Regions from separate parts of the Homo sapiens genome. Here all the other regions are linked to region 3. Evidence: promoter capture Hi-C in 16 types of primary human blood cells and fetal thymus (Javierre and others, 2016). All regions are on one chromosome and are shown on one strand. The core of a region is centred on a gene start or on the middle of the fragment in contact, and the rest is flanking DNA. Distances in the headings are between cores, read along the strand shown. Region 1 holds the start of LOC122455340. Region 2 has its middle 6.7 kb from the start of SLC61A1. Region 3 holds the start of AMHR2 (anti-Mullerian hormone receptor type 2). Region 4 overlaps CSAD (cysteine sulfinic acid decarboxylase). Region 5 overlaps ZNF740 (zinc finger protein 740).

Region 1 (3,949 bases), core at 37-2,536, 180 kb after region 3:
CAACGGCGCGGTCTTGGCTCACTGCAACCTCCACCTCCCGGGTTCAAGCGATTTTCCTGCCTTAGCCTCCCTAGTAGCTGGAATTACAGGTGCGCGCCACCATGCCCAGCTAATTTTTTGTATTTTTAGTAGAGACGGGGTTTCACTATATTGGCCAGGCTGGTATCGAACTCCTGACCTCAGGCGATCCACTTGCCTCAGCCTCCCAAAGTGCTGGGATTACAGGCATGAGCCACCGAGCCTGGCTCTCAGCTATCTCTTGGTGGCTTGTCTCATCTCCCAGTCCCATCCCTGGGGACAGGAGACTTACAGCTACCTATGTGTGGATGCCATCCTTAGGAGCCTGAGTCAAGGGTTCCCAGCCTCCCTCATCCCTATGCCAGATGAGCCTGGATGTCACAGATGGGATCACTGCTGCAAGATTGAGGTCATGAGGCTGAGTGAGCTCTCAGAGATTTGAAAGACAAGACATCCAGGCAGAGGGTTCCTGGCTAGAAACAAAGGACCACAAAGGATGCCAAGGATTTCCAAGTGGAGGGAGGAACCAAATATCTTCCACTCAGCCTCTTCTTCTGGTCCAAAAGCCACTGACCCTCTCTGCCTGACTCAAGGTGAGAGGTCAGGGATTCAGAGACTCTTGGGTCAATCTTGGGTGTAGGTCAGAGGGAGAAGAAGTGGCCTCTGGACCAGGATACTCCAGCTCCTCTAGAGGAAGAGTCCATTTATTCATGTGAACTGCAGAGGAGACTCCAATGGAGGCTCAGTGGAGAGGAAGAAATGACAACTTGCTCACCTTCAGGGGCCGTGGGGGAGGCTCTGAGAAGAACACCTTCCATTCCAGAGGTTGCAGAGGAAGAGGTTCTGGAACCAGCAGGAGCACATCCAGAAACTAACTTCAAAGCAGATTCCCCCTGCCACCTCTCCAGGACTGGGGAAAGCCAGCTGCCTCTACCTGCTTGAGGGAGGGGTCCAGCTGATCCCTCTCCCACTCCACCCAGCTCCTGCCTCCTTGCCAGGGCAGCAGTACGGAAGTGCTCCAGGAAACTGACAGTCTCCTGGTGGGCAACAGTCCACCTAAATGATCAGACAGCGCCCCCGAGAAGTGCGTTGTTGTCCCCTGAAGCAGCAGCTACAGCAGCCAAGGGAGCCTGGAGGTCCCCAGGCAGCCCCTTGGCCACAGCTACAGCTATCACTGCAGCCTAAACGGGAGCTCAAACAGGCAGCTCGGCTCATGGAGCAAGGGTAAACTGGGCAGGGTGAGGGGTGGCAGCAGGTCAAGGGTGGACCGGAGCATGAGACACAGGAGTTATGGGGACAAGTCAAGGGAGGACAGGCAGGGCAGCGGGGGCAAGAGCAGGTGCAGGGTGGGCCCGGGAGGCTGGGACAAGCGGGGCAGGGAGCTGCACTAGAGGGACAGGCAGTGCAGGAGCATGGGGGTGGGGGACAGCCATGGCAGGGGAAGGCACAGGCAGATGGGGGACAGGACAGACAAGGAGAGCCAGCAGGTGGACCATGCCTGGAGCAGGCAGGAGGCTCTTGGTGGGCAGGCTTCTTATTCCTAGGCCCCAAGCGTAGGCCCAGAGAGAAGTCCATTCAGCTGCAGTTGTGGCCAGGCTGGGGGCTGGGTGAAGGGGAGGACAGGGATGGAGTAGGAGGGGCGGACGGTGGGGGGCAGGATTAAACCTAAGACATGCTGAGCCTTGCTGATCCTGCAGGGAGCTCAGCCCTCCACATCCAGCCCTCCTTTTCCAGCCCTCCCCTTCCAGGCCGGCAAAGCTCTCCTACTACCCCTCTCCCCTGAAAATCCTCCAACAGCACCAGATCAGAACACTTTCTTCAAATATGACATGTACTCCCAGGCCTCCAGTCCTTTGTTCACACTGGTCCTTCTGCTCTGAGTGCCCCTGCTCCCTTCTTCACCTGGCGAGGCCCTGTCATTGCTGAAGTCTTCTCCTTTACTCAATCAAAAAGCATTTCTTGGCCAGGCACGGTGGCTCATGTCTGTAATCCCAGCACTTCGGGAGGCTGAGGTGGGCGGATCACCCGAGGTCAGGAGATCGAGACCAGCCTGACCAACATGGAGAAACCCTGTCTCTACTAAAAATACAAAACTGGCCGGGCGTGGTGGCACATGCCTGTAATCCCAGCTACTCGGGACGCTGAGGCAGGAGAATCGCTTGAACCCGAGAGGTGGAGGTTGCAGTGAGCTGAGATCATGCCATTGTACTCCAGCCTAGGCAACAAGAGCAAAACTTGGTCTCATAAAACCCCAAAAAACAAACAAACAAACAAAATATTTCTTGAGCTCTAGGCCCCTGATGCCTGAGTCTCTCCAACACTAACCTCCAGAGCTGCTGCTTCAGGGACCCCAAACAGCTCCCACAGGGGACTCAGGGAAGCAGCAGCAGGCAATAGCAGTGGCCACAGGAGGGCTCTGAAAGACGGAGTCTGGGATGTAGTTGGGAGCTGGCAGAGGAGGTGGGATGCCTGGGTTCTAGGAATTTCCAGAGAGAGCAAGTCCCAGGTGTGAGTGTGGGGGGTGCTCAACTGTCTCTGGGAGATTGACAACCAGCCTGGTCAACTATTATTTGAGACCTAGTATGCATCAGGCACTGGCCTTGGTAGTGGACAAGATAGTTAAGTTTCCTCTCTTATGGAGTTCCCATAAAAATGAGGAAGTGAGGGGTGGGGTGAGGTGGGGTGGAGACAAAAAGCAAACAGGTAAACATATAACTAAGCTTATTTCAGAGCATGAGAAAGGCTATTTTTTTTTTTTTTTTGAGACAGAGTCTCGCTCTGTCGCCCAGGCTGGAGTGCACTGGCACAGTCTTAGCTCACTGCAACCTCCACCTCCCGGGTTCACGCCATTCTCCTGCCTCAGCCTCCCGAGTAGCTGGGACTACAGGCACCTGCCACCATACCCGGCTAATTTTTTGTATTTTTAGTAGAGACAGGGTTTCACTGTGTTAGCCAGGATGGTCTCAATCTCCTGACCTTGTGATCCACGTGCCTCGGCCTCCCAAAGTGCTGGGATTACAGGCGTGAGCCACCGCACTCGGCCCGAGAAAGGCTATTCTTATCCCAGGGTGATGTGATAAAAAGTGACTCGGAGAGGTGACTCCATCAGAAGTGACAGTTAGACCAGCCCCCAATCAGGTATGACCACCCTTAAGGGCTTTGGGGGAGATGCAGTCTGTCAAACCCTGGCAGAGGAGGCAGAGCTGACCGAGGCTGAATGGAACCCGAGTGGCTGGGTTATGGAGAAAAATAAAGCTGAGAAAGGAATAAGGAAGGCTGGAGGTGGCAATCCAAAATTCAGTGGTCAGGGAAGGTGTCACTGAGCAAAGACCTGAAAGAAGTGAGAGCAAGTCATGGAATTATCTAGTGGGAGAACATTCCAGAGAGTGGGGACAGCAAGTGCCAGGAGCAAAGAGGAGAGTCATAGTGGCACAGGTCAGAGAGTAAGGCAGAGGTCCTACCATGCAGGGTCTTGTGAGACATGGCAGGGACTTGGATCTTATTCCAAGTAAAAAGGGAAAACCAGCCAGACGAGGTGGCTCCCACCTGTAGTCCCAGCACTCTGGGAGGCCGAGGGGAAGATTGCCTGAGCCCAGAAGCTCAAGACTAGCTTGGGCAATATAGTGAGACTGCATTCTCTACAAAAAATTTAAAAAATTATCCGACTTGGTGGCATGAGCCTGTAATCCCAGCTACTCGGCAGGCTGAGGCAAGAGGCAGAGGCTGCAGTGAGCCGAGATCACATCACTGCGCTCCAGCCTGGAGCACGGAGCAAGACCCTGTCTCAAAAAATAATAAAACTAGGCAGGGCGCGGTGGCTCATGCCTGTAATCCCAGCAGTTTGGGAGGCCGAGGCGGGCAGATCACAAGGTCAGGAGATCGAGACCATCCTGGCTAACACAGTGAAACCCCATCTCTACCAAAAATACAA
Region 2 (3,704 bases), core at 116-2,615, 160 kb after region 3:
GCGGAGCTTGCAGTGAGCCAAGGTCGGGCCACTGTACTCCAGCCTGGGCGACAGAGCAAGACTCCATCTCAAAAAAAAAAAAAAAGTGAAAAATTAAAGTAAGTTTAAAGAATTATCTTCAGGCCAGGCACAGTGGCTCACACCTGTAATTCCAACATTTTGGGAGGCTGAGGTGGGAGGACTGCTTGAGCTCAAGGGTTCGAGACTAGCCTGGGTCACATAGTGAGACCATCTTCTCTACAAAAAAAAAAAAAAAAAAAAATTAGCTAGGTGTGGTGGTGTGCACCTGTAGTCCCAACTACTCAGAGGTGGGAGGACTGCTTGAGCCCAGGAGGTCGAGGCTGCAGTGAACTGTTATCGTGCCACTGCACTCTAGCCTGGGTGACATAAGACCTTGTCTTAAAACGAAAAAGAAAAAAAATGAATTATTTTCAGAGGCAGCAACAGAAGGCAAAAAAAAAAAAAAAATGCCAAGCACGGTGGTGTTTGAGTAGTCCCAGCCAGTCTGGAGGCTGAGGTGGAGGTGGGAGGATCACTTGAGCTCAGCAGTTGGAGGCCAGCCTGGGTGACATAGCAAGATTCAGTCTCAAGAAAAAGCCGGGCATGGTGGCTCACTCCCGTAACCCCAGCACTTTGGGAGGCCAAGGTGGGCGGCTCACTTGAGATCAGGAGTTTGAGACCAGCCTGGCCAACATGGTGAAACCCCATCTCTACTAAAAATGCAAAAATTAGTCAGGCATGATGGCGCACACCTTGTAGTCCCAGTTACTGGGGAGGCAGAGGTAGGAGAATTGCTTGAATCCAGGAGGCTGAGGCTGCAGTGAGCCAAAATTGTGCCACTGCCCTCCAGCCTGGGTGAAAGAGGGAGGCCCTGTCCCCCCCAAAAAAAAAAAGAAAAAGCCATACTCAGATTTTGAACTGCGCCATGGGTCAGTGGCTTGCTGTTGTTCAAGCGTCAACTATATATTTATATAGCAATACAAATATATGTATTTTAATATACTACTATAACGTAATTAGCACATACTGATATTCACATATGTATATAAAATATGCATTTCTGTATTTGCATTTGACCATTTTACAATGAGACCATATAACTTTATGAAAAAAACAGTTAAAGTAAATGTGAGGTATTTTTATAACATCAGATCTGATCTCAAGCATGACATTTGTTTGTGTTACATTTCCAATCTGTGGTTCTATGGGGAGGTAGTGGCAGCAAATAATAAAAAGGGCAGGAAAACCACAGGATTGGGGTTAGGGGAAGAGCGATAAGGAGAGGACCTAGACTCAGCTGACCATTAGCCGGGAACAGCCCCCTCCCCTCCCAGGGCAGGGACTGAATTTCCAGGAAGAGGTCATCCTCCAGGCCTCAGAACCCTGTACTGTCTTCCTGCCCCAGTCCTCCTGCCTCCTCGTTCATTGGCTCCTGGGTCCCCAGGATGTTTCTCTTTTCTCCTCAGGATCGCTTAAAAGCTCCAGATCAAATAATCATGTTTCCAGCTGGATGGAAATTCAGAAAATCAGGAGCCTCTTAGTGAAAGATGGTGGTTGTATCCAGTCTAACCCCAAGCTGACTTTCCCACTAGAGGAAGAGGAAATGAGTTCAAGTGGAACACATTGACACCCAGCTCAGATGCTCACATATCCCAGAGTAGAAGCCTTCTCAAATAGCTCGATAATTCCATCTGGGCCAGTACTGAGGATAAACGCTGCTGGGAATCCCCCAATCACTAAGATGCATTGGGAAGTTCTACACCCCATTACAGTCCTGTCCACTCATTCCCACACTCAAATCTAGATAGGCTCAGCTGGATTGGAGAAGTTAAAAAATAAAATATAAAAGCAAACACTTATGTAGTGCTTATACTGTGGGCCAAATACTGTTCTAAGCACTTAAGTACAATGACGCATTTAATCCTCACAAGAACCCTTAGGGGTTGAAACTATACTATCCTCCCCATTTCACAGATGAGGAAACTGAGGCACAGAGTTGTGGAGCCAGATTCAAACCAGGCAGTTGGGCTTTTTTTTTTTTTTTTTTTGAGATGGAGTTTCACTCTTGTTGCCCAGGCTGGAGTGCAATGAATGGCATGATGGCATGATCTCGGCTCACTGCAACCTCCGCCTCCAGGGTTCAAGCGATTCTCCTGCTTCAGCCTCCCGAGTAGCTGGGATTACAGGCGCCCACCACCATGCCTGGCTAATTTTTGTATTATCATAGAGACGGGTTTCACCATGTTGGCCAGGCTGGTCTCGACTCCTGACCTCTGGTGATCCACCTGCCTTGGCCTCCCAGAGTGCTGGGATTACAGGAGTGAGCCACTGTGCCCGGCCAGATCCACATTTTTTTTTTCCAGGTGGAGTCTCCCTCTGTCGCCCAGGCTGGAGTGCAGTGGTGCGACCTTGGCTCACTGCAAGCTCCACCTCCCGGGTTCATGCCATTCTTCTCCCTCAGCCTCCCAAGTAGCTGGGACTACAGGCGCCCACCACCACAACTGGCTAATTTTTTGTATTTTTAGTAAAGACAGGGTTTCACCGTGTTAGCCAGGATAGTCTTGATCTCCTGACCTCATGATCCGCCCGCCTTGGCCTCCCAAAGTGCTGGGATTACAGGTGTGAGCCACCGCACCCGGCCCTCAGATCCACATTTTTAATCACTTCCCTATGGGGCCTCTTGGTGGAGCATCATGAGCAGCATTTCGCAGGGAGTATGCACCTGGTGAACCAGTCCCTCATTTGAATAATCTGGATAGATACCCCTAAGTGGATCAGACAGCCAAATACTCCTACTCTCTTGCTGTTCTCCAGGGACAGAGCTTTGGGTGGGGAAGCAGGGCTGGAGGCTAAAAAAACAGGTAAGTGAAGTCCCATGGGACAGAGGCAGCATGTGTCATAGAGGGGGCACTGGGTTGGCAAAAAGAGGCAAGGTTTAGTCTTAGTTTTATCACTCACTTGCTACATGCCCTTAGGCAAGTTATTTGCTTTCTTTAAGTGGATTTTCCTCTTGGGTAAAATAAATAAATAAATAAATAAATAAATAAATAAGGCCAGGTGTGGTGGCTCACGCCTGTAATCCCAGCACTTTGGGAGCCTGAGGCGGGTGGATCACGAGGTCAAGAAATCAAGACCATTCTGGCCAACATGGTGAAATCTCGTCTCTACTAAAAATTAACTGGGTGCGGTGGGGTGTGTCTGTAGTCCCAGCTACGCGGGAGGCTGAGGCAGGAGAATCACTTGAACCTCGGAGCCGAGATGGTGCCACTGCACTCCAGCCTGGCAATACAGCGAGACTCCATCTCAAAAAAATAAATAAATAGGCCGGGCACGGTTGCTCATGCCTGTAATCCCAGCACTTTGGGAGGCCAAGGCGGGTGGATCATGAGGTCAGGAGTTTGAGACCAGCATGGCCAAGATGGTGAAACCCTGTCTCTACTAAAAATACAAAAATTAGCTAGGCGTGGTGGTGCACGCCTGTAGTCCCAGCTACTTGGGAGGCTGAGGCAGAATTGCTTGAACCTGGGAGGTAGAGGTTGTGGTGAGCCGAGATTGTGCCACTGCACTCCAGCCTGGGTGACAAGAGCGAAACTCCATCTTAAAAAATAAAATAAAATAAAATAATAAATAAAAATATCACCAGTACCTAGCGGTAAAACACACGGCATAGCAGGTGCTCAATAAAAAATGTTTAAGGCCAAATG
Region 3 (3,615 bases), core at 1-2,500:
TCCCCTCCTGAGAGCTTGCGTCTCAACCCACCCCCACCCTGGTCACAAGACCCCTTATCTCCCAGTCACCAGGGCAACCAACTTCCCAAGGCCAGGAGGAGGAAAGCGTGGGGCGGGAGTAGGGTGAGAACTGGCCCTGGTTCCACCTCTCATCCTAACCTGGGCCCCAGCCCCCATCAGGCTTCAGTACCCTTGGGTGGCTACCTGGGGCAGCCTGGGGACCCTGGGAGCCAGGAGTCCCAGGGCTCCCTGGAGGAGGCAGATGGCTGTAATTGGCATTGCAGAAGTCAGTGCCACAGGAGCAGGTGAAGAGAGTGGAGCCAGGGCTGGGGTGGGCTCGGGGACTTGGGTCACAGTGGAGGGACTCACAGCCTGGCTCATCACTGTCTCGGCATCCTGATGGGATGGGATTAGGGGAAGAGGAGAGAAAGGGGGGGCAAGGAAGAAAGCACAATGGGGTGTGGAAACAGAGGGTAAATCCCTTCTCTATCAGAGGCGTCCCTTCCAGCTCTCATGGGCTTTTCTTTCCCACCAGATGTTCTATTTCTCCCCTTCCCCCTTGGTTGCCACCCACACCCCAGGATGTGTCTGTCTCCCACCCTAGCCATCACCTGCCATATACTTTGCCATTCACCTTGCATTTCCACCTGTGCCCGGTCTTGGGTCAGGTTCCAGATCCCAAAGCAGCAGCGGCTGTAGAGGCAGCGGATAGCTCTGGGGAGCTCTGTGCCTGTATCTAGCAGCTCTCCCAGTGTCTTTGTGCTTCCCCGCACTCCAGGGGCCTCAAAGAACACACAGGTTCGCCTGTTTGGGGGTGCTGAGGCCCAGGGTGGGGAAAGGAAAAGATTCAAGGTGGGAGTGAATGCAGAGGCAAAAAACTGGCCAAAAGAATAGACAAAACATGTTCCACATCCCAGCGTCAGTATGGTAAAGCCACAGGAGGAAGCAGGGTCAGCAGAGGCCTGGAACCTGAGCCCTGCCATGGGGACACATGGCTCTATCCTTCACCCTTACTCACCCAGCCCACTCACCACTCTTCCAAAGGGGTGGCTCTTGCTTCAAGCGCCCCTTTCCCTTGCTGGATGGATGGAGAGACCCTTCCCCTCCCTGTAGACACTTACCTTCCACAGCTGTGGGAAGTAATGCCCAAAGCCCCAAAGACCCTAGCATCTTGCTGGAGGATGGCAGCAGCAGAAGGAGAAGAGCATAAGCCAGCACAGCTGCCCCTGGCCAAATCTTTCTTCAGATACAGGGCATCCTGGGGCTTCTGATCCCTCAGTCCCCAACTCCGCCCCCCTCATCCTATCCCAGCCTCTGTGGGGGAGAAGGCTGCTGTGGGGGAGAGGGTGGGTGTGGGGAAAGCAGGGAAAGAAAGGGAGGAGCAGAGAACCAATCTCATATCCTCTTCTCTTCTGCAACCTCCTCTTTGCTCTGCATAGTGAGAGGAGGGGAACTTGGAGGCCCAGCTGAGAACCCAGTGATGCCTAATTTCAAATCTTTGCCCTTCCCTGACCTTGGAAGAAGATGCTGGACTCTGTTGACTCTTCTCAGGAGGAAACCAATGTGAGGTCAAATGCTTAGAGCCATTCAGCTCTGCCCAAGATCCTTTCTAGCCTAAGATCTCTTTATATTCAGGGTTCATATCTGCAACTGCTTGGGCAGAGGAAGGCCTCACAGCCCATATTAGAGGTTACCTTGTTTTCCAACTTAAGAATCAGAAAGTATACAAAACTTACCTGAATTTTTAAAAAACACATTGAAAACAGTAACAATGGTAAATTTTGCTATGTGGATTTTTTTTTTTTTTTTTTTGAGACGGAGTCTCGCTCTTCTCCCCCAGGCTGGAGTGCAGTGGCACGATCGCAGCTCACTGCAACCTCCGCCTCCTGGGTTCAAGCTATTCTCCTGCCTCAGCCTCCTGAGTAGCTGGGATTACAGGCGCCTGCCACCACACCTGGCTAATTTTTGTATTTTTAGTAGAGACGGGGTTTCACCATGTCAGCCAGGCTAGTCTCGAACTCCTTACCTCAGGTGATTTGCCCGCCTCGGCCTCCCAAAGTGCTGGGATTATAGGCGTGAGCCACCATGCCTAGCCGTGGATTTTACTTAAAAAAAAAAAACACATTGGTTCACAGGCTGAACAAATACCCATTATTAAGGAGGTAACAAATTTCTTATCAAGCACCTACTATGTGCTGGGGCACAGCTAGGGCTATGCATTTTACAATCATCTCATCTAATTCTCCCCTGAAATATTTATTATTATTATTTTATTTATTTATTTTTTGAGACCGAGTGTCGCTCTGTCACCAGGCTAGAGTGCAGTGGTGCCATCTTGGCTCACTGCAACCTCTGACTCCCTGGTTCAAGCGATTCTCCTGCCTCAGCCTCCCGAGTAGCTGGGATTACAGGCACGCACCACCATGTCCAGCTAATTTTTGTATTTTTAGTAGAGACAGGGTTTCACCATGTTGGCCAGGATAGTCTCGATCTCGTGACCTCGTGATCTGCCCGCCTTGGCCTCCCAAAGTGCTGGGATTACAAGTGTGAGCCACTGTGCCTGGCCTATTATTTTTATTATTTCCATTTTATAGGTAAGAAAACTGAACTTACGTAAGTCGCCCAAAGTCATTCAGCTAGGAAATAGCAGAGCTGGAATTTGAACTTAGGCAGGTCTGACTCCAAAGTCCAGGTTCTAGTCTTATTTTTATTATTATTTTTGTACTTTTAGTAGAGACGGAGTTTCACCATGTTGGCCAGGATGGGGTCGATCTTTTTTTTTTTTTTTTTTTTTTTGAGATGGAGTCTTGCTCTGTCGCCCAGGCTGGAGTGCAGTAGCGCGATCTCGGCTCACTGCAAGCTCTGCCTCCCGGGTTAACGCCATTCTCCTGCCTCAGCCTCCCGAGCAGCTGGGACTACAGGCGGCCGCCACCACGCCCGGCTAATTTTTTGTATTTTTAGTAGAGACGGGTTTTCACCGTGTTAGCCAGGATGGTCTTGATCTCCTGACCTCGTGATCCGCCCGCCTCGGCCTCTCAAAGTGCTGAGATTACAGGCGTGAGCCACTGCGCCCGGCCGAAGGGGTCGATCTCTTAACCTCGTGATCCCTCCGCCTCGGCCGCCCAAAGTGCTGGGATTGCAGGCGTGAGCCACCGCACCCGGCCGGCTCTATTCTTTGTATTACACTATACTGCCTGAAAGACGTACAAAATTCAACAATGAAAAAAAATTACCACTTAATACTATACTTGGACATTTGAATTTAAATTGTTGAGAAAATATGCATCATTACCTGCCAACAGGCCACTAACTAAAAAGGGAGGGTACAGTTCAAACTATCACCACCAGAGGTCAGCAGAGGAGAAATTCCCTGCTGCGGTGAGAGGGCAGAAAGTACCTCCTCTGATGACTAATACATATAGTATACCTCCTACATTTACTAAGCTTCAGGGACTATAAAATGTGAAGGGCGGGCACAGGATGTGGAGAGTTTCAGCATGGAGTTGGGAGGAGAGGGCTATGGCTTGTTCTGCAGTAGAGACAGAGGAGTCCAACTCCACCAGACTCTTTCCCAGAGTAAGAAACAACAGAAATAGGTAATCACTTCCACACCTG
Region 4 (3,791 bases), core at 655-3,154, 250 kb after region 3:
ACCTGGCTGAGAGCGCTTCAGGAGACAATTGCCTAGATCCCTTTGTCCCCAGGCAGGCCTCCTCCTGTGTGACCTTCCCTAACTCCCTCTTCCCTCAGGCCCACTCCATCACTTATTCAAATAGCATTGCAATGACTCCTGCTGAGTCTTTTCCTGCACCAGCTCTCTATTGCCTTAAGGAGAGCCTTAGTGTTTTGTCCTTGAAGCCTGTCCTGGGCCAGTTGAACTTTCCTGCCTTTCCATGGTGACCTCTCAACTCCCTCTTGTGGCAATTTCCCTTTATTTTACATGCAGGTCTCTCTTGCCAGCCTGTTAGCTGGAGCCCACAGGGCAGATGCAGCACCTAGGGTAATGCCAGCCAGGCGCTCAGAAGTAGACAACACTCAGTCAATGTTTGCTGAACAAACTGAACCCATTCCCTTCCCTGAGAGCCAGCGGGGGTTGAGGGGTTGCGTAATAGAGATGAGCAGTGTGTGGCTCCCTTTGCCTTCCATTAGACCTTTGATAACAGTGGATTGAGGAGTTGGGAAACCACATGATGTGCAAGGGACATTCCTTGAGCCTGATGATTTGTATATTTTAGAATTCTTGTACCCCCTTAATTCCTCCATATATATATATATTTTTGAAATGGAGTCCCACTCTGTCGCCCAGGCTGGAGTGCAGTGGTACCATCTTGGCTCAGTGCAACCTCCGCCTCACAGGTTCAGGTGGATCCTGCCTCAGCCTCCTGAGTAGCTGGGATTACAGGCACCCGCCACCACGCCCGGCTAATTGTGTATTTTTTAGTAGAAATGAGGTTTCGCCATGTTGGCCAGGCTGGTCTCAAACCCCTGACCTCAGGTGATCCACCCACCTCAGCATCCCAAAGTGCTGGGATTACAGGTGTGAGCCACCACACGCGGACAATTTTTATATTGTTTAAAAAGAACCGTTATTTTAATTCCATAAGCAATGTGAAATGATTGTATAAAGTTATAAAAATATAGATGTGTATAAATAATAAACTTAAAAATCATCCATAACAACACCCAGAAATAGCCACAAATGAATATTTTGAAGTCTTTTTCCTTCTTTTTCAGTATTTTCTTTTTTTCTTTTTTTTTTTTTTGAGATGGAGTCTCGCTCTGTCGCCTAGGCTGGGGTGCAGTGGCGCGATCTCTGCTCACTGCAAGCTCTGCCTCCCGGGTTCACGCCATTCTCCTGCCTCAGCCTCCAGAGTAGCTAGCTGGGACTACAGGGGCCCGCCACCACACCCGGCTAATTTTTTGTATTTTTAGTAGAGACGGGGTTTCACCGTGTTAGCCAGGATGGTCTCGATCTCCTGACCTCGTGATCCGCCCGCCTCGGCCTCCCAAAGTGCTGGGATTACAGGCGTGACCCACTGCGCCTGGCCTGTATGACCCGTTTTACATGAAATGGCCAGACTAGACAAATCTACAGAAACAAAGTAGATTAGTAGTTGCCAGGGGTCGGGGAAGGGGAGAATGGGAAATGACTGCTACTGAGGTTTTTTTTTGGGTGATGAAAATGTTCTGGCGTTAGATAGTGATGATGGTTGCAACAACTTTGTGAATTTATGAAAAAAACACTTAATTGTACACTTTTCACCCCACTTCCTCTGCCATCTTGGTCCTGCTGTCCTGAGGAGCTACCTGTGCACCCTGCCTCCGGCTCTCCTGAGCAGAGAGGTAAGCTTGTCTCTGCCTTAGGTGGAAATGGCCACTAGAGTCCACTTGCTCAGCACTGACTGCCTTTTCTCTCCCACCTGTTCCCACTGGTTTTCTCCCTGGGCACTCTCACTTGCCCTTGTCTGTGCACTGGAGGCCGAGACTGAGCTGCAGGGTTTGGGCCTCAGGCCCGTTTGGGAGAGGAGGCTCCTGCTGGGTAGGTCCGGGAAGGGTTGACAGGCTGAGTAGGGAATGACTCTGCTCTGCCACAGATCCTGATGGCTGACTCAGAAGCACTCCCCTCCCTTGCTGGGGACCCAGTGGCTGTGGAAGCCTTGCTCCGGGCCGTGTTTGGGGTTGTTGTGGATGAGGCCATTCAGAAAGGAACCAGTGTCTCCCAGAAGGTGAGTCCTTTCTTCCTCCTCCTTCCCATCAAGCTTTCTTTCTTTTCTTTTCTCTTTTCTTTTTTCCTTTCTTTTCTTTCTCCCCCCCCCTTCCTTCCTTCTTTCTTCCTTCCTTTTTTCCTTTCTTCCTTTCTTTCTTGACAGAGTCTCGCTCTATCGGCCAGGCTGGAGTGCAGTGGCACAATCTTGGCTCACTGCAACCTCCGTCTCCCGGGCTCAAGCAGCTCTCCTGCCTCAGCCTCCCGAGTAGCTGGGATTACAGGCATGTGCCACCACGCCCGGCTAATTTTTGTATTTTTAGTAGAGACGGGGTTTCACCATGTTAGCCAGGCTGCTCTCGAACTCCTGACCTCAGGTAATCTGCCTGCCTCGGCCTCCCAAAGTGCTGAGGTTACAGGCGTGAGCTACCACGCCTGGCCCAAGCCTTCTCTTTCTCTTTCCAAATCTGGCTCAGAACTTTCCTCCTTTGATAAGATTTCTCCCCAGAATTCATCCCTGCCCCCCTGGGTACCTCAGGGATTTACATTCTGGGTCTTACTGTGTTCACTACTCTTGTTCATTTTCAGAGTTTTGCTTTGGAAATATCCCGAAGTTGTTTTTAGTGCAGGTTGGCCGTGTCTCGTGTCTGTGGAGGTGTGGTTTGACAGCCAGTCCACAGGCATCCCAGGCCCCCAGCATCCCCGGCTCTCTTCCTAGGTCTGTGAGTGGAAGGAGCCTGAGGAGCTGAAGCAGCTGCTGGATTTGGAGCTGCGGAGCCAGGGCGAGTCACAGAAGCAGATCCTGGAGCGGTGTCGGGCTGTGATTCGCTACAGTGTCAAGACTGGTGGGCCCTGGCTTCTGTGAGGAGGAGACTTGGGAGTTTGCCCTGAGCTCTACTCTGAGCTCCCTGGCTTACTCTCCTTCTCCAGGTCACCCTCGGTTCTTCAACCAGCTCTTCTCTGGGTTGGATCCCCATGCTCTGGCCGGGCGCATTATCACTGAGAGCCTCAACACCAGCCAGTGAGCATCCCAAGGCCCCTCTACCATCCCACAAAGGATTTAGGTTTGCTAGAGAGGTGCCTGAGGGGTAGGGGAGGAGAATGGTTCTGCCCTCTCTCTACTGCTTCTGGGAATCCCTGTCGGCAGAGAGTTTTTCCTCATATCCTTTGGACCCACTTTCTCCAAACTTTCTCAGGCCTCCTGACCCCTGTTTTCTCTTTCTTGCTTCCCTGGTTCTGTCACCAACTCGTTCTTCTCCTTGGACTGTTGCTTTGCTCACTCTTCACTGCCTCCTTTTTGTGACTCCTGTGCAGTTTAAGGGCCTGTCTGGGCAGTCCCTCCCCATCTCTCCTTTCTCGTCGTTCTCTCTCCTGGCAGGTACACATATGAAATCGCCCCCGTGTTTGTGCTCATGGAAGAGGAGGTGCTGAGGAAACTGCGGGCCCTGGTGGGCTGGAGCTCTGGGGACGGAATCTTCTGCCCTGGTTTGTGAGAAGGAGGAGGACCTTTCTTTGCCCTTTTTATGAGTTCCTCCTCCCCCACCGTTCTCTTGCTCTAGTGTCTGGCAGGGAGGGATGATTCCTCTTTGATTCCTCTCCAGCTGGACCCAGGCCAGGCCAGGGAGGCGGCTGCCTGGTCCCTTCATGCTCATGTTTGTCACCATTCCCTGGGGTCAGTGGTCTAGTTCCTGCTATCTCCGGACGGGGGCTGTCTCTTGGGGGCAGCCCCAGATGTGGAG
Region 5 (3,678 bases), core at 765-3,264, 230 kb after region 3:
GAGGATCGAGGACAGTGCAACCACGTCCGAATCAACCAGACGGTGAGAGCCAGCAAGCACAGGCAGAAGGCGGGCAGGGGGAGGTGGGAGTGGGAAATTAAGCAGGCAGGAAAAGATGGGTGGCAGGTACAGGGAGTGACATGAGAGCCTGAGGTAGTCCTCCATCCATCCTTCCTGGAGCAGTCTGAGTGGCTTCCTCAGGCATGTTTCTAGGAGTTGGGTGTTAACATGACCCCATCCCTTCATTTACTAAGGGGTGAGGTTCTGGATGATTGGTGAGTTTGGGGTATGTGTGTGTGCATGTGTATAACCATGGCCTGATTCCTGCCTCTTCTCAGGTGACTTTCTGGGTTTCTCTCCAAGCCACCCACTGCCTCCCAGAGCCCCATCTCCTGAGGCTCCGGGCCCTTGGCTTCTCAGAGGAGCTGATTGTGGAGTTGCACACGCTGTGTGACTGTAATTGCAGTGACACCCAGCCCCAGGCTCCCCACTGCAGTGATGGCCAGGGACACCTACAATGTGGTGTATGCAGGTGAGGGCCTCCTCTTCCCTTCAACCACCTGGCTCCCAACAACCAACCAACCCTGGCCCGTATTCCTCCGCTGCTTTCCATCCCCCCCACAGGAGTCTCCTCGACATCCCGACTCCCCACTCAGTTTCATCCCTTGAAGCTTCCCATGTATGTCCAGGCCCTCCCCCTGACTGGGGCTCCCTCCACTCTCTCACCCCTCAGTGTTTCACTATACTTAACATCCTTTCAGCTGTTTGTCTGTCTCCAACTCTTTTGAGAACTTGGGTTTAGAGGTTCCTGGGAGAGACAAGTCAGGGGTGATCAAACCCTCTGACCTACTTCTCTCCTTTGCCTTCCCCTTCCAGCTGTGCCCCTGGCCGCCTAGGTCGGCTCTGTGAGTGCTCTGTGGCAGAGCTGTCCTCCCCAGACCTGGAATCTGGGTGCCGGGCTCCCAATGGCACAGGGCCCCTGTGCAGTGGAAAGGGTCACTGTCAATGTGGACGCTGCAGCTGCAGTGGACAGAGCTCTGGGCATCTGTGCGAGTGTGACGATGCCAGCTGTGAGCGACATGAGGGCATCCTCTGCGGAGGTACCTGGAGCCTTGGGGAGAAGGGCGGGGTCTGAGAGGCCTTCCCAAGGCACTTAGGCTCTGGGAATCTCCTGGCATGGAAGGCAAATATCAAAAGATTCCGGTGTATGGGTTAGAGGGTGTGGTTGGCATACTTCAAAAAGATTGGATGCGTGGGCTTGTCGTGCCACATGATGGCCAACTGTGTGTGTGGAGTATGGTTGTCACCCTCTGCATGGCTCTACCCCAGGCTTTGGTCGCTGCCAATGTGGAGTATGTCACTGTCATGCCAACCGCACGGGCAGAGCATGCGAATGCAGTGGGGACATGGACAGTTGCATCAGTCCCGAGGGAGGGCTCTGCAGTGGGCATGGACGCTGCAAATGCAACCGCTGCCAGTGCTTGGACGGCTACTATGGTGCTCTATGCGACCAATGCCCAGGCTGCAAGACACCATGCGAGAGACACCGGTGAGGCCTCAGGTCTTGCATCTTGGGAGCAGGGGCACAGTGGGGCTTGTTGAGCTACTCCCATCTGCCTACTCTCCGTCCTGCTTGTAGTTGGGCAAGGGGCATTGGGTGACAACTGCCCAGCTGGTAACCTATTGGCATCTACTACACAGGGACTGTGCAGAGTGTGGGGCCTTCAGGACTGGCCCACTGGCCACCAACTGCAGTACAGCTTGTGCCCATACCAATGTGACCCTGGCCTTGGCCCCTATCTTGGATGATGGCTGGTGCAAAGAGCGGACCCTGGACAACCAGCTGTTCTTCTTCTTGGTGGAGGATGACGCCAGAGGCACGGTCGTGCTCAGAGTGAGACCCCAAGAAAGTAAGTGGGCAGGGATGCCACAAACCCTGGAAGTTTGATGGGCAGGGTCTCAACTCTGGGGATGCAGAGTGAAGATAATGGGAAACAGGCTGGGGGCTGAAGCAGAACTGTGAATCCAGGACAAAGGCAGAGGCAATTGAGCAAGTGGACGAGGCTAAGGCCCTGGGCGGTGAGGATAACCTTGGACCTCCCTGGGTTCCCTTTGCTTTCAGTGACAGACAGGGTTGGACAGGCTGGACACACTGTGAGCAACTGATGATCTGTCCCTATGCTCCAGCTCCCACAAGTGTGTCTGGTTTCTTGTTCACAGAGGGAGCAGACCACACGCAGGCCATTGTGCTGGGCTGCGTAGGGGGCATCGTGGCAGTGGGGCTGGGGCTGGTCCTGGCTTACCGGCTCTCGGTGGAAATCTATGACCGCCGGGAATACAGTCGCTTTGAGAAGGAGCAGCAACAACTCAACTGGAAGCAGGTGAGGAGACTTCCTGGTTAGGCCCCTTTTTAGCTGTTCCCCCACCACAAGACCAGCCCTGATTCCTCCCACTGGGTTCCCCCAGCCCCTGGCACATGTAACCAACCCCTCTGCTAACTTCCATCAGCTCCTAGGATTCGGCTCAAGGCTGGCCTCTTAGGTCTAGAAAGGGGACGAGGAATCCTGGGATTTTTGCTTATAATCTGCAACATCTTTCTCCAGGACAGTAATCCTCTCTACAAAAGTGCCATCACGACCACCATCAATCCTCGCTTTCAAGAGGCAGACAGTCCCACTCTCTGAAGGAGGGAGGGACACTTACCCAAGGCTCTTCTCCTTGGAGGACAGTGGGAACTGGAGGGTGAGAGGAAGGGTGGGTCTGTAAGACCTTGGTAGGGGACTAATTCACTGGCGAGGTGCGGCCACCACCCTACTTCATTTTCAGAGTGACACCCAAGAGGGCTGCTTCCCATGCCTGCAACCTTGCATCCATCTGGGCTACCCCACCCAAGTATACAATAAAGTCTTACCTCAGACCACAGCTGTCACTTTGCTTTACCTCATCAAGGCCAAAGCAGACTGTTTATAGCCTGGGCCTCGGGAAAGCTCTTGTCCATCCTCCTCTTGCCACCTGAGGGCAGGGAGAGGTGCCCAAGCGCGAATGTGCAGGAAACTCCCGGGGTGCACCCTGGGACCCAGGAAGCCAGGTCTGGAAAGGGCCTATGAATTCTCAAGTGCTGCGGATGCAGGGGGGTCCCAGGTCAGAGACACTGCATCTGTTGGTGTCTAGCCTCCTTCCGTCCTGCTGCGTGTGCTTTTTCGTCTTGCTCAGAACTGATGCCCTGTTTTTGCTCCTACTTGCTTGTTCCTCTGTGGAGAAGGGGTTTTAAAATGGCTTATAGGGTGCTGGAAGTTGTGGGGTGATTATGTAGGGAGAAAAAAGGAAAACAACTAAAACCAGTATGAAAAAGCTTCCCCAAAGAGGAGATAGTATGTAGAAAAGCCCCATTTTCCTTTTATTTAAATATCCTAAATATATCACGAAGGAACATACACTGCACTTTAATGGTAAAAAGATACAAGTTTATAACATCTTATAAAAACTACCATTTAAAAGTGATCTTGTCCATTTGATATTCCCCTCCCCCATAGCAAAATATTATTTAAAAAAAAAAAAAACAAAAAACAGGGTGGAGAGGAGGATAGGAAGGGGACAGTTGATAAAACCCCAGGGCCACAGCAGAGGCAAAGGGCATCTGGGGAGAGGGTTCGAAGCTGTGGCGGACTCCACTAATGT

The links. Contacts are between HindIII fragments. The CHiCAGO score rates a contact against its expected background, and 5 or more counts as called.
Region 1: a contact is called between a fragment that was not itself captured here and the fragment with the promoter of AMHR2 in region 3, in 4 of 17 cell types (total B cells, endothelial precursors, activated CD4 T cells and 1 more). The highest score is 5.9, in total B cells.
Region 2: a contact is called between a fragment that was not itself captured here and the fragment with the promoter of AMHR2 in region 3, in 2 of 17 cell types (total B cells and erythroblasts). The highest score is 5.8, in total B cells.
Region 4: a contact is called between a fragment that was not itself captured here and the fragment with the promoter of AMHR2 in region 3, in 6 of 17 cell types (neutrophils, activated CD4 T cells, total CD4 T cells and 3 more). The highest score is 7.0, in neutrophils.
Region 5: a fragment that was not itself captured here is called in contact with the fragment with the promoter of AMHR2 in region 3 in 7 of 17 cell types (activated CD4 T cells, neutrophils, total CD8 T cells and 4 more); the score reaches 9.7 in activated CD4 T cells.

The regions. Positions count from the first base shown.
Region 1 is chr12:53,239,567-53,243,515 of GRCh38, reverse strand. LOC122455340 reads right to left here and starts at 1,616. Exons shown (of 1, transcript NM_001395962.1): 1 at 794-1,616. The coding sequence starts at 1,593. The coding sequence ends at 1,075. RefSeq lists an enhancer at 793-1,705. The HindIII fragment of the contact is 2,909 bases long and covers 1-2,740 here.
Region 2 is chr12:53,256,947-53,260,650 of GRCh38, reverse strand. No RefSeq gene overlaps it. Among named protein-coding and RNA genes, the nearest start is that of SLC61A1, 6.7 kb to the right of the region's middle. The HindIII fragment of the contact is 8,302 bases long and covers 1-3,704 here.
Region 3 is chr12:53,421,490-53,425,104 of GRCh38, reverse strand. It overlaps AMHR2 (anti-Mullerian hormone receptor type 2), which reads right to left and starts at 1,250. Exons shown (of 11, transcript NM_020547.3): 1 at 1,122-1,250; 2 at 635-817; 3 at 205-396. The coding sequence starts at 1,170. RefSeq lists a cis regulatory region at 3,163-3,615 and an enhancer at 3,366-3,615. The HindIII fragment of the contact is 5,088 bases long and covers 1-3,446 here.
Region 4 is chr12:53,171,628-53,175,418 of GRCh38, reverse strand. It overlaps CSAD (cysteine sulfinic acid decarboxylase), which reads left to right. Exons shown (of 17, transcript NM_001244705.2): 3 at 1,649-1,691; 4 at 1,943-2,074; 5 at 2,771-2,897; 6 at 2,983-3,073; 7 at 3,431-3,537. The coding sequence starts at 1,949. Among named protein-coding and RNA genes, the nearest start is that of ZNF740, 7.2 kb to the left of the region's middle. RefSeq lists enhancers at 1-540, 3,407-3,791. The HindIII fragment of the contact is 411 bases long and covers 1,699-2,109 here.
Region 5 is chr12:53,190,562-53,194,239 of GRCh38, reverse strand. It overlaps ZNF740 (zinc finger protein 740), which reads right to left. Exons shown (of 7, transcript NM_001004304.4): 7 at 1-3,678. It overlaps ITGB7 (integrin subunit beta 7), which reads left to right. Exons shown (of 16, transcript NM_000889.3): 10 at 1-42; 11 at 339-532; 12 at 877-1,100; 13 at 1,330-1,549; 14 at 1,702-1,910; 15 at 2,221-2,381; 16 at 2,604-2,917. The coding sequence ends at 2,684. Among named protein-coding and RNA genes, the nearest start is that of CSAD, 11 kb to the right of the region's middle. The HindIII fragment of the contact is 2,681 bases long and covers 674-3,354 here.